Regions from separate parts of the Homo sapiens genome. Here regions 1, 2 and 3 are each linked to region 4. The links are contacts of gene promoters, found by promoter capture Hi-C in human tissues and cell types (Jung and others, 2019). All regions are on one chromosome and are shown on one strand. Each heading gives the region's core, a stretch centred on a gene start or on the middle of the fragment in contact. The rest is flanking DNA. Distances are from core to core; before and after follow the strand shown.

The links. Contacts are between HindIII fragments. The study calls those that stand out against the background at their distance.
Region 1: a contact is called between a fragment that was not itself captured here and the fragment with the promoter of SRL in region 4, in 2 of the 25 tissues and cell types used here (H1 embryonic stem cells and IMR-90 fibroblasts).
Region 2: a contact is called between a fragment that was not itself captured here and the fragment with the promoter of SRL in region 4, in 1 of the 25 tissues and cell types used here (mesendoderm cells).
Region 3: a contact is called between a fragment that was not itself captured here and the fragment with the promoter of SRL in region 4, in 1 of the 25 tissues and cell types used here (lymphoblastoid cells).

What each region holds. Positions count from the first base shown.
Region 1 is chr16:3,832,728-3,835,666 of GRCh38, reverse strand. The region is part of intron 2 of CREBBP (CREB binding lysine acetyltransferase); the gene reads left to right. Among named protein-coding and RNA genes, the nearest start is that of CREBBP, 47 kb to the left of the region's middle. The HindIII fragment of the contact is 4,169 bases long and covers 1-2,939 here.
Region 2 is chr16:3,863,689-3,866,466 of GRCh38, reverse strand. All of the region lies in intron 1 of CREBBP (CREB binding lysine acetyltransferase), which reads left to right. Among named protein-coding and RNA genes, the nearest start is that of CREBBP, 16 kb to the left of the region's middle. The HindIII fragment of the contact is 4,434 bases long and covers 1-2,778 here.
Region 3 is chr16:3,909,649-3,912,456 of GRCh38, reverse strand. No RefSeq gene overlaps it. Among named protein-coding and RNA genes, the nearest start is that of CREBBP, 30 kb to the right of the region's middle. The HindIII fragment of the contact is 3,545 bases long and covers 1-2,808 here.
Region 4 is chr16:4,240,644-4,243,634 of GRCh38, reverse strand. It overlaps SRL (sarcalumenin), which reads left to right and starts at 1,555. Exons shown (of 6, transcript NM_001098814.2): 1 at 1,555-1,628. The coding sequence starts at 1,568. The HindIII fragment of the contact is 19,223 bases long and covers 1-2,991 here.

The DNA.
Region 1 (2,939 bases), core at 72-2,571, 410 kb after region 4:
CGGAGCTTGCAGTGACCCGAGATCCCACTACTGCACTCCAGCCTAGGCGACAGAGCAAGACTCCGTCTCAAAAAAAAAAAAAAAAAAAAAGAAGAAATCTTCTGTGAGCATTTTTGTACAGCTTTTTTTGTGGGCATAGAAGTTTTCATTTCTCTTAGATAAATAACTAGCAACGAAATTCACTGTACAAGGAGGTGTCTGTTTCTGGACTCTGTAGTCTAAGGGCAAACTATAGCCCATGAACCACATCCAGCCCCATGACCTGTTTTTATATGGCTTGCCACGTAAGGATGGGTTTTATATTTTTTAAGGATTGTTTAAAAAGAAAACAATCTGGGATGGAAACCGCAGGTCATCTGCAAAGACTAAATTATTTATTAACTGGCCCTTCATAGAAAAAAAAAATCCCTGTACCTTTGTTCTAGTCTGTTCTATTGATCTATTTTTCTATTCATTTAGTTTGTTTTTTAAGAAAAGCTTTTTTGTTTGTTTGTTTTGTTTTGTTTTGGAGAAGGAGTCTCGCTCTTTTGCCCAGGCCGGAGTGCAGTGGCGTGGTCTCGGCTCACTGCAACCTCCACCTCCCGGGTTCATGCCATTCTCCTGCCTCAGCCTCCCTTAGTAGCTGGAACTACAGGCGCCTGCCACCATGCCCGGCCAATTTTTTGTATTTTTACTAGAGACGGGGTTTCACCGTGTTAGCCAGGATGGTCTCGATCTCGTGACCTCGTGATCCGCCCGCCTCGGCCTCCCAAAGTGCTGGGATTACAGGCGTGAGCCACTGCGCCTGGCCCAAGAAAAGCTTTTAAAGATTTTGGGTTTTTTTAGAGTAGTTTGAGCTTCACAATGAAATGAAGGTACAGAGATTTTCCATCTATTCCCTGTTCTCCTAGTTCATAGTCTCCTCCATTTTCAACATCCTCCCCAACTCCGCTGTCTAGAATGGTACAGTTTGTCACAATCAATAAACCTATATTGATACATCATAATCCGAAGTCTGTAGTTTACACTAGGGTTCACTCTTGGTGTTGTACATTCTGTGGACTTGGACAAATGTATAATGATGTGCATCATTGTAGTGTCATGCAGAGTATTTTCACTGCCCTAAAAGCCGTCTGTGTTTCACCTCTTCATCCCTCTCTCCTTCCCAAAACCCTGGCAACCACTGATTGTCTCCATAGTTTTGCCTTTTTGTAAAGTTACAGTCACACAGTGTGTAGCCTTTTCTCATTGGCCTCATTCATTTAATAATATGTATTTAAGGTTCCTCTGGGTCTTTTCATGGCAATTATCCCTTTACCTACTGAAAGACTTCATGGTTGCTTCCAAGTTTTGGCAATTATGAATAAAGCTGCCATATACATCCATGTGCAGGTTTAAGTTTTTACCTGTTTTGGGTAAATACCAGTGAGCACAATTGCTGGATCATATGGTAAGAGTATGCTTAGTTTTGTGAGAAACTGCAAAAATGTCTTCCAAAGTGTCTATATCATTTTACATTCCCACCAGTGATGAATGAGAGTTCCTGTTGCACTACATCCTCGCCAGCATTTCGTGTTGACAGTGTTCTGGATTTGGCTGTTCTAATAGGCAAATAGTGGTATCCCATTGTTGTCATTTGCATTTCTGTGATAAGATGTGGGTCATCTTTTCATACGCTTATTTGCCATCTGTGTGTCTTCTTTGATGAGGTGTATGTTAAGGTCTTTGGCCCATTTTTTAAACAGGTTGTTATTGTTGAGTTTTGAGAGTTCTTTATATATTTTTGTAAATAGATCTTTATCAGATGTGTTTCTTGCACATATTTTCTCCCAGTCTGTGGATTGTCTTCTCATTCTCTTGACATTATCTTTGAAGGGGCAGTTTTAATTTTAATGAAGTCAATTTTATCAATCACAAAAGTTTCATAGATGAAACTTTCATAGTTGTACTTTAGCTTTACAGTAAGTATTAAAGTCAGGTTGCTTAGTTTCTCGTTTTCATTTCTGTTTAATTCCTAGGTTTTACACCATTATTTGTTGCTAGTATGGAGAAGTATAATAAATGTTTCTGTATTAATGTTGTATCTTGTAACCCTGCTAAACTCACTTATTAATTCTATAAGATGTCTTAGAATTTTCTGGGACATGTTGTCTGAGAATAAAAATAGCTTGCTTCTTCCTTTTTCATCTGTATGCATTTTATTCATTTTTCTGGCTTTAATGTTCTGCCTAGGACCTCTAGTACAATGTTTTGTTTGTTTGTTTTGGGTTTCTTTTGAGATGGACTCTCACTCTGTAGCCCAAGCTGAAGTGCAGTGGTGCTATCTCGCCTCACTGCAACCTCCACCTCTGGGGCTCAAGCGATTCTCGTGCCTCAGCCTCCTGAGTAACTGGGACTACAGGCTTGCGCCACCACACCCAGCTAATTTTGTATTTTTAGTAGATACGGGGTTTCACCATGTTGGTCAGGCTGGTCTCGAACTCCTCACCTCAGGTGGTCCGCCCATCTCAGCCTCCCAAAGTGCTGGGATTATAGGTGTGAGCCACCGTGCCTGGCCAGCACAATGTTTAATAAAACCAATGACAGTGTTCTTCCCTTGTCTTATTCATGATCTGTGGGAAAAAAGCATTCAGCCTTTCGTTAAGTATAATGTTAGTTGTAGGCTTTAGGTATCATTCATTAGGATGAGGAATTCTGTTTCTAGTTTGCTGAGTCTTTTGATCATAAGCGATTACTGAATTTTGCCACATCTTTTTTCATTTATTGAGATGAATCATAGGGTGTTTTTTTTTTCTTTGAATGTGAATTACGTCTTTCTGAGTGTTGAACCAGCCTTGCATTCCTGTGAGATAACCCCACTTGATTGTGGAGTGTTATCTTTTTTATATGTTACTGGATCAGATTTATTAAAATATTGTTCAGGATTTATGCTTCCACAGTAATGTGCTACATAACGAATT
Region 2 (2,778 bases), core at 112-2,611, 380 kb after region 4:
CTCTAATGAGAATTATTTGAACAAAGTACAAATTACCCCTAAGAGGCGCCATCCAGAGATAGGAAAATGGATTGTGTTTTAGTGTGGCGTCTGATCATCACTTGCTTTGTCACAAGCTCCATTTTTAACATCATCTTTATATTAGAGGTTTCTTCATTGATTTGCTAGAAGCCACAAGACATGACAGCCAACTAATTTTTGAGTATTTTGAAATAATGTCAGATTTCCCTGTGTGAGCGTTGGGTACAAAATGTTACATGTCGATTGTCACATCCCTTTAGAAAAAAATACTTTCGAAAAGTTCTTCTTTAAAGTGCCCTTTTCTTTTCTAGCCTTTTAAGCTTATTTGTACACTAAATATATTTTGAACTAATAGTGAACCCATTTCACATTTTATCCTCAAATCATAAGGACCCTAACTGGAAACTGGAGCACTGGGAACCATTCCAGGTGTTACCACCTGGTGCTGAAGTTAATCACCTGGGCCAGTATATCCCCAGTGGGGGTGCCTTAAAAAAAAATCAGTTTCTTGGCCGGGCGCGGTGGGCTCACGCCTGTAATCCCTGCACTTTGGAAGGCTGAGTTGATGGATCATGAGGTCAGGATATCGAGACCGTCCTGGCCAACATGGTGAAACCCCGTCTCTACTAAAATACAAAAATTAGCCGGGTGTGATGGCGTGCACCTGTAGTCCCAGCCACTCAGGAGGCTGAGGCAGGAGAATTGCTTGAACCCAGAAGGTGGAGGTTGCAGTGAGCTGAGGTCGCGCCACTACATTCCAGCCTGGGCGACAGATCAAGACTCCATCTCAAAAAAAAAAAAAATTAGTTCCTTTAATTACTTAAACTAGTAGTTCATTCACATGGCTCAGAAAACTCAGAGGACAAAACCTGTAGAGAGAGCCTCCCTCCACCTAGCTCCTCCCAGGTAACCACTGGAAGTAGTGCTGTCTTCCAGGGTTTATCTGTATTCAGGCAGACGCTGTTGACTCTTAGTTCTCTCTTCCCCCTTCCTGCCTTTTTCTTCTTAACTGAGGTAGCATAGTGTACACACAGCTGCATACGTTTATTGTCTTCTTACAGTTGTCTACCATTCCATTATGTGACCTGTGCCATAATTGCTTTAATCCTCTCCCCACTGGTGGACATTTAGGTTATTTCCAGTCTTGTCTTCTCACAAACAGTGCTTTAATGAATAGCCTTGTAAAGTTATGCGGACAGGCAAATCTATGGAACAGATTCATAGAAATAGAATTAGTGGTTAAAAGGCATATGCATTTATAGTTTTGATCATAGCAAATTTTCCTTCAAGAGCCTGTGTGTTGGTAGAGTCTTAAAATGTGAAAGGCAGCACATATATTCTCCAGGTATACATTGCTAGATGTGTTGCAGATATTCTTTTTTTTTTTGAGACAGAGTCTTGCTTTGTCGCCCAGGCTGGAGTGCATTGGCACGATCTTGGCTCACTGCAGCCTCCACCTCTCAGATTCAAGTGATTCTGGTGCCTCAGCCTCCTGGGATTACAGGCATGCACTACCATGCCCCGCTAATTTTTGTATTTTTAGTAAAGGAGGGGTTTTGCCATGTTGGCCAGGCTGGCCTCGAACGCCTGACCTCAGGTGACCTGCCTGCCTTGGCCTCCCACAGTGCTGGGATTACAGGTGTGAACCACCATGCCCAGCCACGGATATTCTTTATCAGCATAGTCTATGATGAGTAACACTAAGGTTGTTCTTCAGCTTGTGATTCTCCATCATGTTGTGCTTCTCAGTTGTTTCTGAATTCTCTCATTTTATGGTGTACCTTTTTATTATTATTTTGAGTCAGGGTCTCACTCTGTCACCCAGGATGGAGTGCAGTGACGTGATCTTGACTCACTGTAGCCTCCATCTCCTGGGCTCAAGCAGTCCTCCCACCTCAGCCTCCTGAGCAGCTAGGACTATGGGCATGTGCCACCATGCCTGGCTAATTTTTGTACTTTTTTTTGTAGAGACCGGGTTTCGCTATGTTGCCCAGGCTGGTCTTGAACTACTGGACCCAAGCAGTCCCCCTGCCTCGGCTTCCCAAAGTGCCAGGATTATAGGTGTGAGCCAACATACCTGGTACTGGCATACTTTTTGGACTTAAGGCATTCATTTTCTGTTTGTGGCTCTCAAATAGCCCACACGCCTCCACGCGTTGTACATGGACTGGCACTTCCAAGTCTGCTTTCACGTCTGGAATATGCTCTTTCCCCCTTTCTTGACTTCTTGTTGCCGCCTGCCAGCTACATCTCACAGCATTTGGGGCAAAGGACCTGGTCTCTGGATGTCTGTTTGCTTGTTCTTACAATATGGCTGGGGAATCTGAGGTGGCTGGGAATCTGGGGTCTGGGGCTGCTTCTGCAAAGGCTAGCTCCTAGCTCAGCCCCCACATTCTTCTTCCTCCAGGACTGTTCTTGGCTGGAGAATCCTCTCCCTGTAAGCAGGGTGGATAGGCAGCTGACTGTAGCACCTCTCCGGGGTCTGGTGCCCCTCTCAGCTGTGGTGGTGGTAAACAACCCGTTTTTGCTCCCCTGTCCCAGATGATTGGGCTAACGTGCAGGGGCTGCTGGGTCATTACTGTGTTCTGGTGGCAGCTGGCTGCTATGACAGGCACCTTCCATTCCACCCTTGTCCCCACCCTTCAGGGCTGAGGGAAGCAGCACGCAAACCATGTTGAGGAAACTAACGTTGTCTTGGCTGTCTGGGAATGGCACTTCCCTGTGACTGCTAAGTGCACCAAATAAAAATAGACTTGG
Region 3 (2,808 bases), core at 107-2,606, 330 kb after region 4:
TTCCAAGGCCCCCCGTTGCCCATGGACATCACAGAGGGGAGAGGGGGGCATGGGGCAAAGAGAGAAAGCGCCACACAAATGGAATCACAGCCTCATCACTTCCACGAACAAAGGTCTTCTGGGGAACTTCCATGAGTAGGCACACATGGCCACGTGCCGAAACCCGCCTCTCTCTCAGCAGCCACCTGCATCTTCCTTGAAGATGAATGTCTTTCTCAGTTGCTGCCTTTTGATTTGATTTGGTTTGACTTTTGTTTTTTGAGACGGAATCTTGCTCTGTCACATGTGTGATCTTGGCTCACTGTAACCTCCCCCTCCTGGGTTCAAGTGATTCTCCTGCTTCAGCCTCCCAAGTAGTTGGGATTATAGGCACTCAGCACCACGTCCAGCTAAGTTTTGTATTTTTGGAGAGATGGGGTTTCACCATGTTGGCCAGGCTGGTCTTGAACTCCTGACCTGAGGTGATCTGCCCACCTCCACCTCCCAAAGTGCTGGGATTACAGGCATGAGCCGCCGCACCCAGCCTGATTTGACTTGAGAGACAGAGTCTTGATCTGTTGCCGAGGCTTGAGTGCAGTGATGCAATCACAGCTCACTGCAGCCTCGACCTCCCGAGCTCAAGTGATCCTCCAACTTCAGCCTCCCAAGTAGCTGGGACTACAAGTGTGAGCCATCACATCCAGCTAAATGTTTTTTTTTTTTTTTTTTTTGAGACAGAGTCTTGCTCTGTCACCCAGGCTGGAGTGCAGTGGCACAATCTCATCTCGCTGCAACCTCTGCCTCCCAGGCTCAAGTGATTCTTGTGCCTCAGCCTCCTGGATAGCTGGACCACAGGCACATGCCACCATGCCCACCTAATTTTTGTATTTTTAGTAGAAATGGAGTTTCACCATGTCGGCTGGACTGGTCTCAAACTCCTGGCCTCAAGTGATCTGCCCAACTCCGCCTCCCAAAGGGCTGGGATTACAGGTGTGAGCCACTGAGTCCGGCAGAGCTTAGCATTTGAATTGGAGCAGACTCAATATAGAAGATCACCCTCACCAATGCAGGTGGGCAGGTACAATCCTGAATAGCACAAAAAGGCTGAGGAGGGGTGAATTCTTTCGGCTCCAACTGGGACATCCTTCTTTTCCTGCTCTCTGACATTGGCGCTTCTGGTTCTCAGGCCTTTGGACTCAGACAAGGACTTAACCCATGGGCCCCGCAATTCCCAGTCATTTGAGTTTGGATTGGAACCACACCTCCAGCGTGCAGATGGAAAATCTTGGGACTTCTCTGCCTCCGTAACCATGTGAGCCAGTTCCTCATACTCAACCTCTTTCTGTGTATCTATACACATCCCATTGGCTCTGTTTCTCTGGAGAATACTGACTCATACATGTTGTCTCCCAGTTGATATCTCAGGGCCCTACATTCCTGGGAAGGTACCTGTGACTGGCTTGGCCCACACAGAAGCCCTTAAAACTTCAACCTTGACAGCTTCCCTGGTGGAAAATAGTTACTCTTTATCCTCGGTAGAAAGTTTCAAAAGACCGCCAGATGTGGTAGCTCACAACTGTAATCCCAGTGCTTTGGGAGGTCAAGGCTGGAGGATCACTTGAGCCCAGGAGTTTGAGACCAGCCTGGGCATCACAGTGAGACCCCATCTCTACAGGGTTTTTTTGTTTGTTTGTTTGTTTGTTTGTTTGTTTTTAATTAGCCAGATGTGGTGGTGCATGCCTCTAGTCCCAGCCACTAGGAGGCTGATGTGGGAGGATTGCTTGAGCCTAGAAGGTTGAAGCTTCAGTGAGCCGTGATTGAGCCACTACAATCCAGCCTGAGCAAGAGAGCAAGACTCTGTCTTAAAAAAAGAAAAGTTTCAAAAGACATCCAACCAAGCCATCAGGCCTCCTTTCTCTCCTAAGCTGGCCTGCTCACCTGCTCACCCTAGAGGGGCAGGGCCGAGCTGGAAACTCCTTTGGCTGCAGCACTGGGGGTGCTGGTGTGGGGGTGGGGTCTGCGTCTTCCCTGCACACTGCATGTTGCTCTCAGCACCATCAAGAGAGGACAGTTCACGGCGGTGGCAGATGGGACTATTCATGTTGCCACCCTTTCTGAGGAACTCCTGGAGGCCCAGAGACAAATGCAACCAAGACCCCGCCCTTCCTGGAGCTCACCGGTTGCTCTTAGTGTTGCCATAGAAACAGAAGCCTGGACTGCGGCCGAGGGCTCAGTTGCGGCCTCCCCTAAAAGATACGTCCACCTGGAACCTCCAGGATGCGATCCTATTGGAGTAAGGATCTTTGCAGATGTGATTAAGCTGAGGCTCTCGCGATGAGATCATCCTGGATTACAGTGGGCCCTATGACAAGTCCTTAGAAGAGAAGGACAGATACAGAGACTCCGAGGAGAAGGCCATGTGAAGACGGAGGCAGACTGGAGAGATGCAGCCACAAGCCCAGGAAGGCCTGGAGCTGGGAGAGGCAGGACAGACCCTCCTCTAGAGCCTCTGCAGGCGGCGTGGCCTGCTCACACCTTGATTTTGGACCTCAGCCCTCCAGAACTGTATAAGAATAAATTTCTGTGGATTAAGCCACCCAGTTTGTGGTCATTTGTTTTGGCAGCTGCAAAAAAGAATACAAGGCGGCCAGGCACAGTGGCTCACACCTATAATCCCAGCAATTTGGAAGGCTGGGGTGGGTGGATCACCTGAGGTCAGGAGTTCAAAACCAGCCTGGCCAACATGGTGAAACCCTGTCTCTGCTAAAAATACAAAAACTAGCCAGGTGTAGTGGCACGCTCCTCAGCAGGCTGAGGCAGGAGAATCAC
Region 4 (2,991 bases), core at 306-2,805:
ATTGCTTGAGCCCAGGAGTTGGAGACCAGCCCGAGTGACATAGGAAGACCATGTTTGCAAAAAACAAAAAAATTAGCCAGATGTGGTGCACACCTGTATTCCCAGCCCCTCGGAGGTTGAGGTGAGAGGGTGGCTTGAGCCCAGGAGTTCAAGGCTGCAGTGAGCTATGATCGTGTCACTACTCCAGCCAGGGTGACAGAGACCCTGTCTCTTAAAAAAGATTAAAAAAAAAAAAAAAGTCAAGTGCCTACCAGATGCCTAATTCTTTTTTTTTTTTTTTTTTTTTTTGAGACAGAGTCTCGCTCTGTTGCCCAGGCTAGAGTCAGTGGTGCAATCTTGGCTCATGGCAACCTTCGCCTCCTGGGATCAAGTGATTCTCCTGCCTCAGCCTCCTGAGGAGCTGGGATTATAGGCACCCGCCACCACACCCAGTAATTTTTGTATTTTTAGTGGAGATGGGGTTTCACCATGTTGGCCAGGCTGGTCTCAATCTCCTGACCTCAGGTGATCCACCCGCCTCGGCCTCCCAAAGTGCTGGGATTACAGGTGTGAGCCACTGTGCCTGGCCCTGATTTAGTTCCTTTCCTCCAAGGCTGGCTTCTACCTCTTCCCCACACAGTGACACTGTACCCCGACCAGACAAGCAAGTGTCTGCTTTCCCTTGGCTTCTTACAACTGGCTCTCTGGGCCATCTACAAAAAATTTTAAAAAATTAGTACAGCATGGTGGCACTACTGTCCTAGCTACTTGGGAGGCTGAGTTGGGAGGATTGATTGAGCCTGGGAGGTCGAGTGCAGTGAGTGATGATTGTGCCACTGCAGTCCAGCCTGGGTGACAGAGCGAGATCCTCTATCAAAAACAAATAAACAAAAAAGCACTTTGCAGAGGTGACTGAATGTTCTGGAACCCCTGGGCCATTGGAAATGGATATCTGTTGCTCCATCCTCCAGTTTACACCGTAGCCTCAGCTTGTGTCTCAGTGTGCCCCTCTCCCTCTGGTCTGTGCTCTCTCTCTTCCAGAGGCTGGGAAGGTTGTTCCAGGGCTGCAGCCTTGGACCTCAGAGGTCACATGTTGCGGGTTTGCCGTAGCTGACCACTCTCTAGCATGTGGATCAGTGGCTGTTAAATAGGATTTCTTTTGCGTGGCCTTACAACTTCCTCCTTCCAGTGCAGGCGTGTCAAGGTCCTTAACCTGCCGAGACTTCAGGTCAAGTTATTGCAAGTTCTGGGAAGACTCAGCTTCCCAGCTCCACCGCCTGAGCCCAAGGGATGCTCCATTTTATGCCTGTCACCCACGCCCTGTGACCCATGTCATGTGATCCCAGGGCTGCAGGGGTTCGGGGGAAGAGAATCCAGCCACGGCCCTGCCTTCTGGGGCCTGGCAGCTGGGACAGCAGTGGCGCAGCCTGAGCCTCTGCACAGCCTTCTGGGGTCCGGGCTTCTTCCCCATCACACCCTCCTAGTTGCCCTGGTGACTGTGTGACCCCTCTCCCCCCTCCACCGCCTGCTGCCACGGCCGGCCGTATAAATAGAGGCGAGGAGCAGCTGGGCTCTCTTGGCAGTCACCATGAGGGCGCTGGTCCTGCTCGGCTGCCTCCTGGCCTCGCTCCTGTTCTCAGGACAAGCAGGTAGGGCCCCTCCCAGCATGACCCAGCCCAGACTGGTCCCCCACGCTTCCTCCAAGGTTTTCTGTCTACCATGGGTTGGGTAGGGGGTCGGGGCTGATGGCAAACCCTGGCTCTTGGCTGGTGTCTTCTTACCCTTCTCTTTTCCCCGGGCCTGGGGCCTCAGAGAAAGAGCTGGGTGCTGGAGAATAGCAGCACAGTTGCGGGGCCCTCAGGAAGGCCAGAGGAAGTGGGAACGGCAAACAGAGCTGAGCTGTGAGCCAGGGTCAGAGAGGAGTCTGGCCAGTAGATGTGGGAAAGAGGGCCCTCAAAGTCGAGACGGGGGAGCCTCTGAGACGGACAAAATAGCACAGTCTGGGAGCTGGAGGTCGTTGAGGTGACCCTCCCACCTGGTGGGATATAAGGCGGAGGCCCCACTCGGGTAAGAGAACTGGGTTTGCGTGGACAGAAGGGGATACAGTGGGCAAAGGTGGGGACCGTTTTGGGAGCAGTGAGATAGAATTGGAATTGGTTTGGGATAAGATCGGAAATAGAGTTGGCGGTTGGGCTGGAAACAGCATTGGATGCAATTCAGAAGAGGAACGGGGCCCGTTCTGGAGTAGAGCCTCTGCTCGGGGTGGGGGCTTCCATCAGAAAAGGGGCTTGGCTCTGTGTGCTGAGGCTTCCCTTTGACATCTCAGCACTTTGGGTAGCAGAGGTGGTGGCTTGGGTTGCAGCATGGGGGTTATCTATAGGCTATGGAGGAGATGCCAGATTGTTTTGCCACCTCTCTTGTTCCTAAGGTTCCTGAGGCCAGGTTCCCCGAGGGAATGCTTTTAGGGAGGTGCTCCGGGGATCCCCCTAGGATCCGGACTGCCCACCGAGTCTTTTCATGACTCGGCAGTCTTCCCCCAAGCTGGGCTCTGAGCCTAGGTCCGTACCTGGGACTGGAGAGGCCCAGAGTCCAGCCTCTCAGGTCTTTGAGGTTGAATAGGGGGTTGCAGGGGCACAGTCCCTGCAGGGAGAGCAGGCAGTGGGTGGGAACAAAAGCTATTTCTCGGGGACTCAAGATGTAAGGTGGGGGGCTCCAGCCACTGCATGTGCTGCTGGGCCCTGCCCTTGTCTGTCCTTGAGTTAATTTGGGCTCTGCAGGGCTGCAGCGGCTTGAGTGCTGAGTATTCCAGGCGGCTGTCAGGCGGCTAAGTATGGAAACAGCCGCGTAATTGGATCCGGAGCCCCAAGCCGCTGCCACCCTCTCCCTTCGTGGCCGCTCCTGTGCTGCCCCCCAGCCCCAGCTGCTGGGCTGCTACACACTGGGCCCCAGGAATTTTTGGCCTTTTAGGGACATCCTTTATCTTTCCTCCCACCGAGGGAACTGGTCATCTGG